Regions from separate parts of the Homo sapiens genome. Here region 1 is linked to region 2. The links are contacts of gene promoters, found by promoter capture Hi-C in human tissues and cell types (Jung and others, 2019). All regions are on one chromosome and are shown on one strand. The core of a region is centred on a gene start or on the middle of the fragment in contact, and the rest is flanking DNA. Distances in the headings are between cores, read along the strand shown.

The links. Contacts are between HindIII fragments. The study calls those that stand out against the background at their distance.
Region 1: a contact is called between a fragment that was not itself captured here and the fragment with the promoter of CASD1 in region 2, in 2 of the 25 tissues and cell types used here (H1 embryonic stem cells and mesenchymal stem cells).

What each region holds. Positions count from the first base shown.
Region 1 is chr7:94,884,432-94,890,269 of GRCh38, forward strand. No RefSeq gene overlaps it. Among named protein-coding and RNA genes, the nearest start is that of PPP1R9A, 20 kb to the right of the region's middle. The HindIII fragment of the contact is 4,674 bases long and covers 1-4,387 here.
Region 2 is chr7:94,507,769-94,513,289 of GRCh38, forward strand. It overlaps CASD1 (CAS1 domain sialic acid O acetyltransferase 1), which reads left to right and starts at 2,041. Exons shown (of 18, transcript NM_022900.5): 1 at 2,041-2,449. The coding sequence starts at 2,317. RefSeq lists enhancers at 1,326-2,314, 2,315-3,301 and silencers at 1,835-2,054, 2,095-2,244, 2,345-2,704. The HindIII fragment of the contact is 12,724 bases long and covers 1-5,204 here.

The DNA.
Region 1 (5,838 bases), core at 801-3,300, 380 kb after region 2:
CAGTGGACACGCTAACCCATACCCTATAGCTTAACAATGTACAATCACTAATCAATGTTATTTCTATAAACCAATGAGAATTTCTGAACAAACAAATTTGTATCAGCCCGCTCCCTGTGCCCATCTTTTTTTTTTTTTTTTGCCTTTAAAAATCCACTTGTAACTGCTACTGATCAGAGTGTATATTCAGGGCAATCTGAATCTATGCTCCTGTATTGCAATCCTCAAGGCTGGCCAAATAAACTCTACTTATATTAATTTTGCCTCAGCTTCTTCCTTTTATTTTATTTTTTTGAGATGGAGTTTTGCTCTTGTTGCCCAGGCTGGAGTGCAATGGCACCATCTCAGTTCACTGCAATCTCCGCCCCCTGGGTTCAAGTGATTCTCCTGCCTCAGCCTCCCGAGTAGTTGGGATTACAGGTGCCTGCCACCATGCCTGGCTAATTTTTTGTATTTTCGGTAGAGATGGTGTTTCACCATGTTGGTCAGGCTGGTCTTGAACTCCTGACCTCAGGTGATCCAGCCGCCTCAGCCTCCCAAAGTGCTAGGATTACAGGTGTAAGCCACCGTGCCGGCCAGCTTCTTCCTTTTAGGTCAATATAAGGTACTTTGTTGACAGATGATTTTGCCCAACTGTAGGCTTATATAAGTGTTCTGAACGTGATTAAGGTAGGCGAGGCTAGGCTTTGATGTTCATATGATGATAGTGTTAGGTATATTAAATGCATTTTTGACTTAGGATATTTTCCACTTATAGTGAATTTGAGACGTAACCCCATTGTAAGTTGAGGAGCATCTGTATTTTGCTTTTGTCTTTTGAGAGAAGATTGCAAACTAAGGCAGAAATTAAGCAATTCCTATGTTCTGGAACCTGTGGATTTACTGCAATGTACCTTTAGAATTGCGCCAGTGGAGAATTTGTATCCATATGGGGTCTGCAGCAACCTCAATTCTTGCCTCCCCAGAAGAAAGAATTTGACTGAGGGACGTAAGTCAGGAAGAGAGACTGAGGCAAGTTTTAGAAAAGGAGTGAAAGTTTATTGAAAAGCTTAAAGCAGGAATGAAAGGATGTAAAGTACAATTGTAAGAGGGCCAAGGGGGTGACTTGAGAGATCAAGTGCATAGCTTGACCTTTTGACTTGGGGTTTTGTACACTGGCATACTCCTGGGGTCTTGCATCCCTTCTCCCCTGATTCTTCCTTTGGGGGTAAGCTGTCCACATGTGCAGTGGGTGGCCTGCCAGCACTTGGGAGGGGAGCATGTACAGTGTGTTTACTGGAGTCGTATGCATGCTCACTTGGGGCATTCTTCCCTTACCAGCAAATGCTCCTAGAAGGTCATATACCAGTTAAACTCCACCATTTTGCCTCTTAATGTGCATGTGTGAGCCCACTTGCCCAATTCCTGAGATCTTATTGGGAAGCTGCTGATCACTAGTTTCAGATTTTTTCTGACTATAGGGAGGCTGCCTTTCCCTGGCGCTGGCTACGGGCCAGTCATTATTGTAGAGTCAGTTAACAACTGCCTAACCATCACCTGATGGTTGCCTGACATTCCTGGTCAGGCAGAGCCCTCTCTCACCCTGCTCATGCCTGACTAGCTACCTACTGTAACAGAATGTTTTTATAAATTGGCTGGGTGCGGTGGCTCACACCTATAATCCCAGCACTTTGGGAGGCTGAGGCAGGTAGATCGCTTGAGCTCAGGTGTCAAGTCCAGCCTGGGCAACATAGTGACACGCTATATCTACAAAAAAAAATACAAAAATAGCCAGGCATGGTGGTGCACTCCTGTAGTCCCAGTTATTTGGAGGGATGAAGTGGGAAGATCACTTGAGCCCAGGAGGTTGAGGCTTCAGGGAGCCATGTTCATGTTACAGTATTCTAGCCTGGGTAAGAAAGTGAGACCGTCTCAAGAAAAAAAAAAAAAAAAAGAATGTTTTTGTAAATTGTTGAATGAAGTCTTTAGGTTGTTCACCTTCTTCTCCTCCTCCTCCTCTTCTTCTTCTTCTTTTCTTCTATTCTTCATCTCCCCCTCCCCCTCCCTCTCTTCCTCCTCTTCCTTCTTATTCTTATTCTTCTTCCTTCTCCTCTTCTTTTTTTGAGACAGGGTCTCACTCTGTTGCCCTGGATGGAGTGCAATGGCAAAATCACTGTTCACTGCAATCTTGACCTCCTGGGCTCACGCAATCCTCTCACCTCAGGCACACAAGTAGCTGGGACTACAGGTATGTAGGAGGTGAGTGGTACAGGTATGTACCACTACTCCTGGAAGATTTTTTATTTTTTTTGTAGAGACAGGGTCACTATGTTGCCTAGGCTGGTCTCAAACTCCTGGGATCAAGTAATCCTCCTGCCTCAGCATCCCAATGTGCTGGGATTACAGGCATGAACCACCACACTCAGCTTGATGTTCACCTTCTTTCTAAGTGAAGAATTCAACCTTAGAGGGAGAAATCCTCACAATCACGCTTATTAAGCTTTGAATGTCAGTCTCCAACTGTGTCAATTCCTGGTCATTCATGGGGGTCCAAGGAGGGGTACTAGCCATCTGTTTCCCTGTTGAAGAGGATTTTCCCCAGAGGGCCGCCTGGCTTGTTGAATAACTACAATATAATCATGAGTGGGAAGAAAACCTCTTGGAAACCTGTTGTGGGCCCTATGAGTCAAGCTATGGACAGCCACGATTCTTTCTACATACTTTCTAAATTTGATAGAATTTTCAGAAAGTGGAGGTAAGAGGGATATAAAATTTAAAAGACCTGCTACTGTCCAGGGTAAACGAATTCTTCATGGTGGGAATCCAGGATACATTCACAATGCATATTGCATGGGAAGACCTGGAGCTGATGGGATCTGATTACGGAGTCCTAGGAAGAAGGTGGGATTATAAGGGAAAGTAAAATAAGTCTTGCTGAGCATTCACAGAGCCTCTGCCAGAACTATCTGTGGTTATTGTCATTTACATAGTAATGTGTATGTCTACACCTGTAGGTCAGGCTAGAGTACTTTTTGCAATTCTTGCGAAGAAAGAGAAGTTAAAGTGGACAGTTGAGTGATTGAGGGATTTTCTGGGAAAATCAGAGGAGTTTCAGGAATTAAAGTAATTTTTGTGGAGGTAGGGCCAGATCATGGAGAGGAGAATTTGAGGCAGAGATCCAGAGATTCAAAAAAATCTTCTATAGGGTCGGGGAAAGGGAGTTGGAGTAAAGGGAAGTATAGGAGGGAGGTGAGAGGAGGAATTTACAGTGGGTGTGGAATTTAACTTTCAGGCCGGGTGCAGTGGCTCACGCCTGTAATCCCAGCACTTTGGGAGGCTGAGGTGGGTGGATCACAAGGTCAGGAGTTCAAGACCAGCCTGGCCAAGATGCTGAAACCCCATCTCTACTAAATATACAAAAATTAGCTGGGCGTGGTGGCACGAGCCTGTAATCCCAGCTACTTCGGAGGCTGAGGCAGGAGAATCGCTTAAACCCAGGTGCCAGAGGTCACAGTGAGCCAAGATCAAGCCACTGCACTCCAGCCTGGGCAACAGAGCAAGACTTCGTCAAATAAATAAATAAATAAAAATAATAAAAACTTTTAAATCTGATTTCTGCTCTTTAATCTTGTTAAGAAAGTCTTTTAGGCTAGCCACGGTGCTTTTTTGCATCCTCTTTCAATTTGATCCTCCCATAGGTACAAATAGGACATTTGTTTAGGGTGAGAGCTAAATCCTTTTAAAAGGATTTAAAGTTCTTTAAAAATAGATACCTCCAAAGGCGTATCTATTCTTAATGTGACTCAAAACCAATAAGCCTTTTTATGACTTAACCATGGTCACAAGAGGGATTCCCAAAGAGAATGCAGAAGATATAGCTCTCATGATCCAAAGGCTTTCCCAAAGATAGCTAAAAAGAACTAAAGCAAAGGACTTCATTGCCACAGGCAGTGAAGAATGGTGTTTGTGAAAAGTCATGTCTCCAGTCTCCCAAATAGTGAGATGCTGCCAATCACAGCCCAGCTAATCCATGAGACTGACACCAGGCAGGCAATACAGAGATGGGACTTCCCCAGTACTGACAAGGCAATGTGGGAAGAGACAAGGGCTCCTTATGGACTAGGGCCCTTTATTTAGACTAATTCTTTGAATGCAAACTGCAGGAGGGAAAAAACAAAATTATTTAGACTAATTCCTCTGAGAGCTGGCATAGTCAGACAGAAACGGTTGCTTGTGCACCTTGTGTCTTGGGTGCCCTATCCTGATAGCTAGTCATTGCTAGACAAAGGCCCAAGAACCTGTGCCTGCTACTCTCCTCCCCCTGCAGGCAGAACACCAGAGAGAGAACACTCTCTGGATCCAAGCCAAGCTCTCAGAACACAAAACAAGGAAGGAGAACATTATCCGGTATTTTTTAATCAGTGACCCACGACAAAGTTTGTCAACGTGAATGCTGGGTTGGTGAGAACTATAAATTCACCAGTCTGTGAGGCCGACTTGAACAATAGGCTTGTAAGACTTATTCTTGTGTTCTATGATTCTCCTCCTTATGGAGAAATGACACAAAACACAGAGATTAAGATAAAACAGTGACCATCCCAGGGAAGGAAAAGATCAATAACAAAATGACTCAAATCAAAATCCCAAGAGTTGCAATATCCAAAGAACTAGTTCTTACGAACATTTTTTTCCTGTTAAGCTAAACTTAGGAAGAGGTCCTTACAGGCCTCACTTAACTAGACTCTAAGTAGGAATCCAGGTGGCTGCATTGGTAATTATTCTTATCTTGCCAGCTTTGTTGGACGTCCTGAGATCTCAGCCAGAGCCTCAGGAGCAAGCAAAGACTTCAAGCCCAACCAGCCCATCCTCATTGCCAAAACTGTCAAGGAGGGGAAAATGTTTTTTGCCACCCTCTTAGATCAGTGACTCAGGGCCTATGAACTAAACTAACAAAAGACAGGTTAACAGGAGTAAAGACACACTTATTTTATAATATTTACCTGCATGAGAGTTCATAAAAAAGAACTAAAAGAAACAGTTAAACTCAGGGACTTGCATACCATTATGACAAAGGGAAAGGGAGTTGGGCTTTAAAACCCAATAATAAATCATGGGGAAGTGATTAGGAAATATATGGGAGAACTGATGGAGAATAAGATTATTTTAGTAAAGTCTGTTGATGCAAACTCATCTTAGTGTTAATTCTCCATCTCCAGTGATGAGCTACTCTCCTCTTCCTGGTACAGGAAAGGGAAACAGCACAAGAGAAAATCTATGTGCTGCTTTTAGGCAGATAAGGGAAGAGCAGAGAAGTCCTCCTGCATCTGTTGATTTTCAGTTGCCTTCAATTCAAAATAATTCTTATACCAAAGTGGCAAATTTTGGTGTGGCATATCCTGATCCCCTTCAGCCTCAAAAGACACCAGATAAACAATTAGATGGCTACCAAGCACTTAGGCAATTCTACTTTTATGGCATGCTCACCATAGTCTCACAAATGCTGTTAGCATCAACTGTGAGCCTCCTTAAAAATGTAGACTAATAAGCCTTCTTCCTAACCCATCTCTCCAGATTCTGATCTGCATTGTCAATTTAGTTATGCAACTTAAGTTGTGTTAAAACTCTGTTAGTGTATCCTTAGGCACATGCATATAATAAAACAAATATAACTTTCTTACAAATAACATTGACCAGATTTCAGTGAGACCTGGGTATGGTATGCCTTGAAAGTAAACCAAATCCTTTTCCCTAATGTGAAAGAAATTGCTAGGCATCCTGCTGTTTTGCTTCAACCAATTCTGGAAGTTGAGGTTATAAACAGAACCAAGCAGCATTCTGGGAATTGGCTGTCGAGTTATG
Region 2 (5,521 bases), core at 791-3,290:
ATGCAGGAACAGAGTCCATGGGTGTTTTTCATTAAAAAAAAATTTTTTTTGGAGGAAGGCAAACAGCAAGGTGATAGGGAGAATTGGAAGACACAGAAAAAGAATGATTTGCATGGGGATAACTGATGGAGGAATCAACACCCTCAAGAAAGGAGGATAAGAAAAGATTCAGAGCAGAGGTAGAGAGATTGGCCTTAAACTTGAGAGAAGAAAAAGGAGGTTCACAAGCTATTTACAGTATTTAAGAAAGCCTTCTGGAAATTGCAATTAATAGAATGTCAAGTTTCTTTACTTTTTGCAGGCATTAACTCAACCCTTTGGGTTAACACTGGTTATTGCATGCTGATCAGAAATTCTAATTTGCTGGTAATGACATCATAGAAATGTCTAGGATGTGATTGGCAGACCATATATTGTTGGCAGAGTTATCTGGTTTTTACAATACCCAATTCTTACAACATGTGATCAACCTCTGATCAGAATGACAGCCAAAATTAAAAGACTATTTGCAGGGAACAGTGCCTAAGTGTTTGTACACTTATTTAACTTTATTGCTTATTAGCATTACATCCATGACAGTGATGTATGTGATTTCATTTAAGTGACAAAATCTTTCAAGATATAAAGTCCATGGATGAAAACATAATAAAGAGTCCTTGGATGAAGAGAATGGGAATGAGTAGACAAGATCTCTACAGTCCCTTCATATCTAATATTCTATAATTTTAAGAGGGGCCTATAAGCACAAGTTCAGGAATGGCTAAATGGGAAAGTTGTAAAGAATACTTGACAACACCCCAACTAAACAATGACTCACTCTAAACAAGGCAAGGCAAGTAGAATGGCAAGCAATGTAAATAACCATTCCCATCTGGAAGGCAACAAGAAAAACCATTTAAAAAAGGTGGGGTGGGAGCGAGAGGAGAGTAGGGATAACAATGCTTTATTAAGGAAATGGAGTGCTGGCTTTATTGAGAATCACAAAACATTAACCAACGTTAGTAGCGGGGATGATTGTCATAAGCACATTAAGAAAAATTTTTTTTGGCTAGGCTTGGTGGCTCATGCCTGTAATCCCAGCACTTTGGGAGGCCGAGATGGGCAGATCATTTGAGGTCAGGAGTTCGAGACCAGCCTGACCAAAATGGTGAAACCCCCGTCTCTATTAAAATACAAAAATTAAACGGGTGTGGTGGCGGGCGCCTGCAATCTCTGCTACTCGGCAGGCTCAGGCAGGACAACCATTTGAACCCAGGAGGGGGAGGCTGCAGTGAGCGAAGATCACGCCACTGCACTAGAGCTTGGGCGACAGGGTGAGACTCCCTCTCAAAAAAAACGAATTTTTTTGGCACATCGACCTAGCCAAACTTGCGTAAATACAAGTGAGAGTCAGACTCTTTTCTCATCAACACCTACACTAAGTTAGGCTCCTTCTGTACCTTCCATTCGGAACTTTGGTGTACTTTCGCCCACCAGAACTGGGCAAACTGAGGACATTAAAAAAACGGTTTAAGAGAAACTGGCCAGAGCGGTGAGTTAAGTGTTAAGACTGGTTTCACTCCTGGGTTGGATGCCAGCAATCCATCGGCCAGCACCATCAACTGGATCCATCAATCCAATCTGGCCAGCACCCAGGGGCAGCCAGACTGACCAGCCAGGCCACGGATAGCCAGACAATAAACGACCTTAGGGTGTCCTTCGCATCCCGCTGGGCGGGTTCTGGCAGTAGAAGGCTGAGAAAGGGGAGTGTTGGGGAAGGAAGGAATGGGACGATGTGTACTTTTCTCCCGGAACTGTAGTTCTATTGCCCCAACCTGGGCTCAGGTAGCGGCCAGTAAACTAGGAGACAGCCCTAAGGCTCGCGTCCGGGCCAGGCGGGTACCCCTAGTACTCTCTCCCCACACCCCCATGGCTCTGCCGCAGCCGCCGCCGCCCGCCGGGGCGCGTGACCCGGTGACCCCGGAGCACTGGGCATCCGGACCCCCCTCGCAGGCGCAGCCGCTATTAAGGCAGGAGGCTAAAGAGGAGGAGGAAGGGGAGGAGACAGGCGTCCAGGGCGCCTGGGGAACCGGCACGGCGGAGCAGCGGCGGCGGGGCTGGGGGGAGGCCGCCGAGTCGGCCGCGGCCGAGGAGGGGCAGGCGGAGGTCGGGGGCGCCGCGGCCGCGGGGTCAGGTTCCCCGGCGGGAGGCGCAGGTGGCGGCCTGGGGAGCTGGCGGCCGCTCCTCGCCTGGCTGCAGCGGCGGCAGCCCCAGTGCTGCCCCTGTGCGGCGCCCCTTTCCCGCTCCGCCGCGCACTGTTGTCATGGAGGAACCAAGATGGCGGCTCTGGCCTACAACCTGGGCAAGCGGGAGATCAACCACTACTTCAGCGTGAGGAGCGCCAAGGTGCTGGCGCTGGTGGCCGTGCTGCTGCTCGCAGCGTGCCACCTCGCCTCCCGCCGCTACCGAGGTGAGCGGGCCCTCCCCTCTGCCCGGGCAGGCCGTGGGGGAGGCGGCGACGCGGCGGCTGGAGGCCGCCCCCATCGCCCAACACACGCCCACGCGGCCTTCCGCCGGCCCGGCCCGCGGGGGAGGCGGTTCCCCCAGGTGTCCCCAGCAGCGGCCGGCGCCCGAGGCCAACTGAGTGGACCCCAGTGGGGGCCACCAAAGGACAATGGCTGGTGGTTCTGGGCGCCCCGAGCCGCCCGCGCTGGGGTCGGGGGCGCCAACCCTGGACCTGGCCAAAAGTGCTGCTGAGGTCCGGCTCCTGAGCGGTCTGGGTTCGGGGAGACGCTCCAGATCAGGGGCTCGCGTGCAGGAAGTCGGACAGGCGGTCCTTGGGGGCAGCCCGGGGCGCATGAAGCCCAAGGCCGCCCTGCAAGGGGCACCGCTGCCAGCAGTGGGGTCGCAGGTCCTGCCTCTTAAGGGTCCGGCTCCTTAGCCTTTGTTTAATTTTGCCTCTGCCCTGTAACACCCAGTCTGGGCTGTTGGACAGCGGCAAGGGCCGCCCCCATTTTCCTTTGCCAAAAGGGCGACAGCTGGCAAAAGATGCCTGTGGCCAAATGGAAGAGGTGCCACCCAGCTTTTGTGATGCAGAAACGTTTAAAGGCTTCGGAGTGCACACTTTTTACAAAGTTAAGGCACCAGAGCAGATTTTTGGAAGGAAGTTGTGGGTTGACAGGCGTAAAGGTGGGCAGTTGAAAGCAAGTTGTAAGCACTTTGAAAGCAGGCCTTGGCCATGGGTTTTGAAATTGGTGTAAAGGGGAAAAGGAAATATGACCTGATTTGAGAATGAATTATCTTTCAGTAATCAAGGGATATTTACTTCTCCTTGCTGATTGATTGTTTTTTTTCCTTTGTAAAAATGTCACTGGGAGAGAGGCTGACAGGCAGAGGGAAATTAATAATGATAGGATCTTTTATTTTTGGCTCTTAATACTATCAAAGCCATTATCTGGCCAGCTCTTGGTGACTGTGAGATTAATCAGTCAAGATGTAATGTGTAATGGACAGGTGCAAATTAGCGCTGTGCCCGTTTAAATTTACACCTACTTTGGCAAAATATCCATAAACGGGTTGTTGGAGTCTGCGCTGTATTCTCATCCCAGGAGATCTTTCAATTTTGGTCAGTTTTGCTGCTTTATTTCTTCCAACTCTTGAGAATTAAAAATATTGTACTCTAGAGCCATACTGGGTGAACAGCTTTTAGTATACTAAATTGATTTTAAAAATTAGATTCTTTATAACCTTTTGGCCTCTCTCCAGCTCTCTCCAGATCACAGCCATACGACCTTGCAAGGCCTTGGTTTATCTACAATCATGTAAAACTAGCAATGTTGATGCATTGATTTGTGGTGGTTTTGAGGAAATATTTCTTTTAACTACTATTAATCATTTTATGCCAATTTGGTATAAAAGAACAGTAATTTAATTCAATTTATGTAATGGTAGTAGAGAGAAATTTTATAACTACAGTACTATTGTCCTAAGATAAATAAACATCTAGTCCCCTTCCTTTTATTTTTTTGTGCTTTTTATCTTTTGATAACCTTGGACTACTATTATTTTTAGATTATAGATTTCATCTTATCAAGATCTGTCATCAGCAGGGAGAATAGAATGTCAGATGGGGACTTATGAGTCAGTGTAGCAATCTGGGATTGTTTATAAAGCCTTCTCCAGAAGTAAGTCATCAGTTTCCATAGGTACTTCAGTGCCTTGAGTGTGAAGCATACACCTGGTGAGTGTACTTGCCCAGACTGAATGTCAAGAATTTGAGCTGAAGACTGGGAAAAATAAACATCTTACCAGGAATATCCTCATGCTTTGGCAGTATCAAACTGAGTCAGGTGCAATGCCCTTCACACAAAGATAATCATACATTTGACTCACATTATAACTCTTTAGGACAGAGGTGGCCAATCTTTTGGCTTCCGTGGGCCCCATTGGAAGAAGAAGAACTGTCTTTGGGCCACACATAATATTAACACTCATGATAGCTGATGAGCTTAAAAAAAATTGCAAAAAATCTCGTATCATTTAAAGAAGGTTTACGAATTTGGGCTGCATTCAAAGCCATCCTGGGCCTCCAGCAGCCCAGGCCATGGCTTGGAAAATCTTGCTTTAGAATAAGAAAGGATCTTACATTAGATGAAGGAGATTAGGCTGTGTATTTGGATTTTGAATGTGTGAGTATGAGTGTGCTGAGGCAAGGTAGAGTGAATGCAGTTTGGATATACATATTCAGTATCTCTTGCTTTACAAACTACCGAAAGTAAAGGAAAGAATTACCCACTACAGAAAGTAAAGCTTGGCGAATACTGTGTGCTAACGTTGAGCACTTATATGTCAGGGACTGTTCTACTAAAGGTTTTACATGTTTTAACTCATTTTGTCTTTATAACCATTCTATGAGGTAGATACAATTACCATATTTCACTCCTCTCCACTATTTTTAACATCTTTGTAATCAGGGTGAGTCTTTAAAACTTTGATTGCATGTCAAAGTTTAATTGGTAACATTTTTTTCTTACTGTGACATAAAATAATCATGTGTCTAATAATCAGTGGTCTTAGATTCAGTGAATTACAGTATTATTTCCATTTTAAATATGAAGCATGACAGATTAAATTGCCTAAGGATACACAGTGACTGAGCTAGGATTTAGATCCCAGTTAGTCTGTCTCATGCCTTATGTTACAGTCTGTCTTTCTCAGAACTTCTTAGACAGTGGGGAGTATAGAAGATAGAGGGAGAAAGCATTTTCCAGGGAAGCATGGGTTAAACAACTTAGAAACAGTAATTCAGGCCGGGCGCAGTGGCTCACGCCTATAATCCCAGCACTTTGGGAGGCTGAGGCGGGTGGATCACCTGAGGTCAGGAGTTCAAGACCAGCGTGGCCAACATGGTGAAACCTCTTCTTCTTCAATTAGCTGGGCGTGGTGGCGGGCACCTGAATCCCAGCTGCTCAGGAGGCTGAGGCAGGGAGAATCACTTGAACCCAGGAGGCAGAGGTTGCAGTGAGCCAAGATCGCATCCCAA